Regions from separate parts of the Homo sapiens genome. Here region 1 is linked to region 2. The links are contacts of gene promoters, found by promoter capture Hi-C in human tissues and cell types (Jung and others, 2019). All regions are on one chromosome and are shown on one strand. The core of a region is centred on a gene start or on the middle of the fragment in contact, and the rest is flanking DNA. Distances in the headings are between cores, read along the strand shown. Region 1 overlaps CNGB3 (cyclic nucleotide gated channel subunit beta 3). Region 2 holds the start of CNBD1 (cyclic nucleotide binding domain containing 1).

Evidence for each region. The method cuts DNA at HindIII sites, captures the fragments that hold promoters and counts their contacts. A contact is called where the count stands out against the background at its distance.
Region 1: a fragment that was not itself captured here is called in contact with the fragment with the promoter of CNBD1 in region 2 in 1 of the 25 tissues and cell types used here (hippocampus).

Annotation. Positions count from the first base shown.
Region 1 is chr8:86,699,270-86,701,969 of GRCh38, forward strand. All of the region lies in intron 3 of CNGB3 (cyclic nucleotide gated channel subunit beta 3), which reads right to left. Among named protein-coding and RNA genes, the nearest start is that of CNGB3, 43 kb to the right of the region's middle. The HindIII fragment of the contact is 3,019 bases long and covers 1-2,700 here.
Region 2 is chr8:86,864,973-86,867,685 of GRCh38, forward strand. It overlaps CNBD1 (cyclic nucleotide binding domain containing 1), which reads left to right and starts at 1,443. Exons shown (of 11, transcript NM_173538.3): 1 at 1,443-1,611. The coding sequence starts at 1,524. The HindIII fragment of the contact is 15,353 bases long and covers 1-2,713 here.

The DNA.
Region 1 (2,700 bases), core at 98-2,597, 170 kb before region 2:
TATAATCTTATATAATAATAATTTAGATATAAATTAATTGGCCATAACTTTATAAGTAAACAATAAAATCAAGACTATTGAATGTTGGCCAGGTGCAGTGGCTCATTCCTATAATCCCAGCACTTTGGGAGGCCAAGATGGAGGATTGCTTGAGGTGAGGAGTTTGAGACCAGCCTGGGCAACATAGTGAGACCCCATCTGTCTCTCTCTCTCAAAAATAATACATAAAAAAGACTACTGAATGTTAATATATTGCATATAAGTACCATTTCCAATGAGCCATTTATTGGTACTTATGGATTCTTGCTGAATATGATATATGATGGTGGTTCATGACAATGTCCTGACATCCACAACAATCAATAAAAGGAAAAACTGCTGAAAGCTTTCAAGTTTTTCATTGTCTGAAAACTGCAGTTAGTTTGGATAGAAATTTAATTGCCCAGAATTTCAATCTGATTGTATTAGATCCCTTTTGCCAAATTTATAGGGTTGTCCAAGTATGGTATTTGAAAAATGCTCATAATTTCCAATATCTGCAGGTGGTGAATTCTTTAATCTTTCTTCTTAGCCTCCCTAAGAGGAGAGACAATTGGAATCTAAAATACAGTTTATTTCCTTTCCTACTTTTTTTCTCCTTCCCATCCTCCCTTCCTTTCCTCCCTCTATCATCCAATCTCTCTTTCTTTCTTCTTTTGCTTTCAATCCAAATCAAGCCAAATAAAATGGCAAGACCCCCACAAAATTTTGTTTAACATGTTCAATTTCTTGTTTGAGTAATACAAAGATGCTAAATTGTTATAACTTTTTATTGCAACTTCAAAGAAACGAGACCTAAGCATTTCCAAAACTAATTACTGCAGATTAAGAGCAACATTGTATGAGAAGCAATGTTTTTTTTAAATTGGTTTAATTCAGTTAACTAATGCATACATCTGAAGCTCTTTATGCTTTTTTTCCTTTCTATTTGTCAGTGATAAACTCAGCTCTATCTGAGGCATTTGTGTGACATCTTAGGAATTATTAAAATATATTGCCTGCCATTTTCAATTTTTTTAATACTAAGAACCATTCAATTAAACGTATGGAAATTTACCACTAGGACATTTCCATGAATGAATACTTTCAACTAGTTGCATTTAAGTGATAGTCATGGTAAAAATTCTGGAAATTTTTCTTAGAGTAAGACTACTTTTTCTAATGTTATTTTCTATTTACAAAATGTCTCTTGGTTACAATTAACGAGATTAAATTGTTTAAATTCTACTTCCTTTTCTCCTCACATCTCCAATATCGTCAGGTTATGGTGTGAATCAAAACCAGTGGACTGAACTGAAAGTAGATGGACTGGTAGACCAAGGTGAAGAAGTTTTATTTTTTATTTTTTGAGACAGAGTCTTGCTCTGACACCCAGGCTGGAGTGCAGTGGCATGATCTCGGCTCACTGCAACCTCCATCTCCCGGGTTCAAGCAATTCTCATGCCTCAACCTTGTGAGTAGCTGGGATTATAGACTGTGCCACCACGCTGGCTAATTTTTGTATTTTTGTATTTAGAGACAGAGTTTTGCCATGTTGGCCAGGCTGGTCTTGAGCTCCTGGCCTCAAATGATCTGCCAGCCTCAGCCTCCCAAAGTGCTGGGATTACAGGCGTGAGCCACTGTGCCCGGCTGGGAAGGAATGTTTTTGAATCATTCCCAATCTTAATAGTTTCTGGATAATTATCATGGTCCATATAGTTTAAAATATAAACAATATTGCAAATATTGAATCCTAGCTCCACTAAAATCCCTGCCTCCGCAGCCTAGAACAAATGCTTTAATTTTTTATACTTTGGGAAGGTATGCAAATGAACCTGTTATTTTCTATTTTAACAGCTATGAGCTCATAATTCTTTCAATTAAAATTTATGCACATAGTAACTATCCCTCCCATCTTTTAGATTCAGCTGTTCCTTGGCTTTAGAAAAATCTCTTTGGCAAGCAGACAGGTAGAGAGTATAAACTGGAACTTCAAAATTTTAAGTTTAAATTAGCAAAATATGTCAACATTGGTAATATTACAGAATTTATGGAATTTAATTTCTTTCAGTGTTGAAGTATTTCTTGAAATAAATATGGGGCTCTAACACCAATAATATGCCATAATTTTTGTGAAGTGGGGCACAGAAGACAAGCTTTGGAGGACATCTCATAAATCTTCTAATTCAATTGCACTTAAACAAGAATCCTCTCTACATCATATCTAGATAAATAATTACTCAGTTTTTGAAGACAGGCTCTCTGTGGACTGCTTGAAGTAATTTAAAAGATTAGAAAAACAGAAAGATAACCATGCAATAATGCATTTGTTTATTATTTTTAAAATTCTTTCCCAGTGAAAGCCCGAACAGTGCAATAATATATTTAAAACATAGCTCTCTTACTGGACAATCACTATTATACTATCTCATGGTAGATTTTATTTTGTAAATAATTCAATAGATAACTACTGGGAAATGGTCAATTCCCCTGAAGTATTTTTATACTCATTTGTTACGAATTTTACCATTTAAGACCTTAAAAATTACTTTTAAATGGTCAAAAATAAGTAGTTATTATTGGGGACTTAGAAAATACCAAAAGGTGAAGGAAAAGAAAAATATGAGTTTTAAGTCTACTATTCAAAGGAAGTTATTATTAAAATTTTGGTGCATATTCTTT
Region 2 (2,713 bases), core at 193-2,692:
TAGTTATTAATGTTATCTAGATGAAGTTGCTCCAGAAATGGTTGGTTTACACTCTGCTAGTCCAGTTCAGGTATCAGACAGCCACAGTCCTTTTGTATATTACCTGATGAAATGGGGGAGTTCCCTGATTCCCCTCACAGAATGTGTGACAGGGCTGTGGTTTGCCTGCTTGGTTGGTCATCGCTGCTGCTCAAACCCTGTGGGGAGGGGGAGCACACAGACGGACAGGTGCAGGAGCCCAAGTGGGCATTGTGTTGCAGTGTGCCCTTGTAGCCCTACCCTCCATGGATGGCTTGATGTTAACAAGCTCAATGGACCCTCTGCCTTTTCACAAGGGTAGAGGGCCAGTGTGATAGCTTTCTGTATCCTGAATTCTTGCCCAGCATCCCAGAAGTACTGGGTCACACATGGGCTTGAAGGAAGAACTCAGGGTTTTATTGAGTGGTGGAGGTGGCTCTCAGCAGGATGGATGGGGAGCTGGAAGGGGGATGGAGTGGGAAAATGATCTTCCCCTGGAGTTTGGCCGTACAGTGGCTGAACTCCTCTCAGTGTTCAGATGTTCCTCCTTTTCTCACTTTCTCTGCCTGTCATTCTGCCATTCATCTATTTGTCTCATCTCTTCGTCTGCTTCTGGAGCCTGGGATTCAGGGTTTATATGGGTACAGGATAGGGTGTGTTGCAGGCCAAAAGGCAACTTTTTAGGTGCAAAAACAGGAATGCCTGTCCCAATCTAGGGCCGCAGGTCTCCAGGCTTGAGGGTGGGGCCTTTACTGGGGAACTGCCCTCTTCTACCCAGTGTTTCCCTGTCTCCTGTCCGTATCACTCTAACAGTTATGATACCAGGACCCTATTTCTAAAGGCCTTGGAAGATAATACACAGCATCAAAAGATACATTAGTTAGGATTGTAAACCCTAGCCATTGTAACTATCCTTAATTATTGTGAAGCAGCAGAAAATAACAAAAAAACATGTTCCACACTCTAGCAGAATATAGTTAAATGTAAGCTGGGGTGGGTTTATTGGTGTATGATAATTAGAAGGGATGGTTTACCCTATAAATGTGGCCATGAAGAACAGTATAAATATGCTATCTCTGTTACTGCTGGTACAGAAAGGGCCTGTGATACCCAGTGTAAACATTTGGTAGGCAGGAAAAGGGCTCTGGACTATGGAAGACCAAGGAAGTGAATACTTTCATTTCACCTAGACTCATGAGTGCTGTTGATTCTGCTGTATCAGCCTTGTGGGCTACAGTTTCCTTCTTCATTATTGCTACTCTCTATAGCTCATAAAGTCCTCCTTATGATTTCCACTGGACTAAAATGTAGCATAGTTCTTCCTGGTCTAGATGACACTCTTGGAAATGCACAAACAATGGATAAGAACTATGAACAAGAAGATTCCGTAGGATTCAACCTATCAGAGAGGACCTTGAAGTTCTGCTTTATGAGCCTGCAGGCAAAGAGTGATCATTTGCCTCTCAAGCAGCCTCTGGTCATCTATCTGCCTTTGAGCCATCAAGATGCCGATGTCTTCTCTTCCAGCAGCTATTTTGTCTCACATGACAGCTATTAACAATGTGCCTCCTCCTCCACTTCACAGTATACCAAGTGAGTGGGAAATACTTTGATGCTCTTATTCACCTACCATTGTTTTCAGCGGTTCTTACCCCAGCTATGAAAATTGGGGGTATTTCAGGGTTGATAGGGACATTGGGAATCTTATTGACAGTGCTGAAGAATGGAAAGAACATAGATGTGTAAATCCTGCTTGGTCTACTTGAAGTCATTTCAGTACTCTAGGTCTTAAGTATTTTTTCTCTGTAAAATGAGGATCTTTACGAACTCTTAGAGCTTCAGATACATTGAAATATTTCTAAAGATGAAAGAAAACAAAGATTTAGAGAGGCCACATGTTCCACCAGCTATCAGGTTCCTTTTTCTAGCAGATCTTCTACTCCCTACCAAGAGTTGGTCCTACTACGCTTAATGGGATAATTAATACTTAATATTCTCTAGGAGAATTCTCATTTCAATTTGACAAGGAAAAAAAGATAATTCCTACTATTCTGACTGTGAAATTTATTCCTATTTAACTTTTTTATTTTCTAGTCTTACTTATAAGAATTAAGTATAGAACTAGATATTTCAAAGTTTATATAATTGACAGTATTTTCTCATTTTATGTAATTAGTCTAAACCTATAACGTTTTCTTAAGATTGTAAACACTTCTCATGGCCATCGAATTTATAAGATCTATTATTTGAACACCATCATTCTGACTAGCAATATGTATGAGTTCCAGTGTTAGTTAAGATTTTTAAAAAATATCTGGATAACAAAGGTAATACTTGTGATCCTTTTCAACTTCAATAAAGCATTAACTCTTATTTTATTATTCATTGGGCAGATTTATAGTATTGATTTGAAGAAGCTAAGCCATCCATCCTTTTCCCTTCCTGTGAAAGTTAATTTCTCCAAATACATTTTAAAAAATTAATGCTCATAGTCTCCAGGTTAAAAGGTATAACAGGTGGCAGTTGATACTCCTTGAAGGGGTACACTGATGTCTTGAATAGTGTTAGACAAAATCCTTATGTTAAACAAAATTAATTCCATTTGTATTATAGTGAAAATAATCTTGCATCTGGTCAAAGTTTTCTATTTCTACTTGAGTGGAAATAAGAATTAAGTGCAATTTTGCTGAAGAAA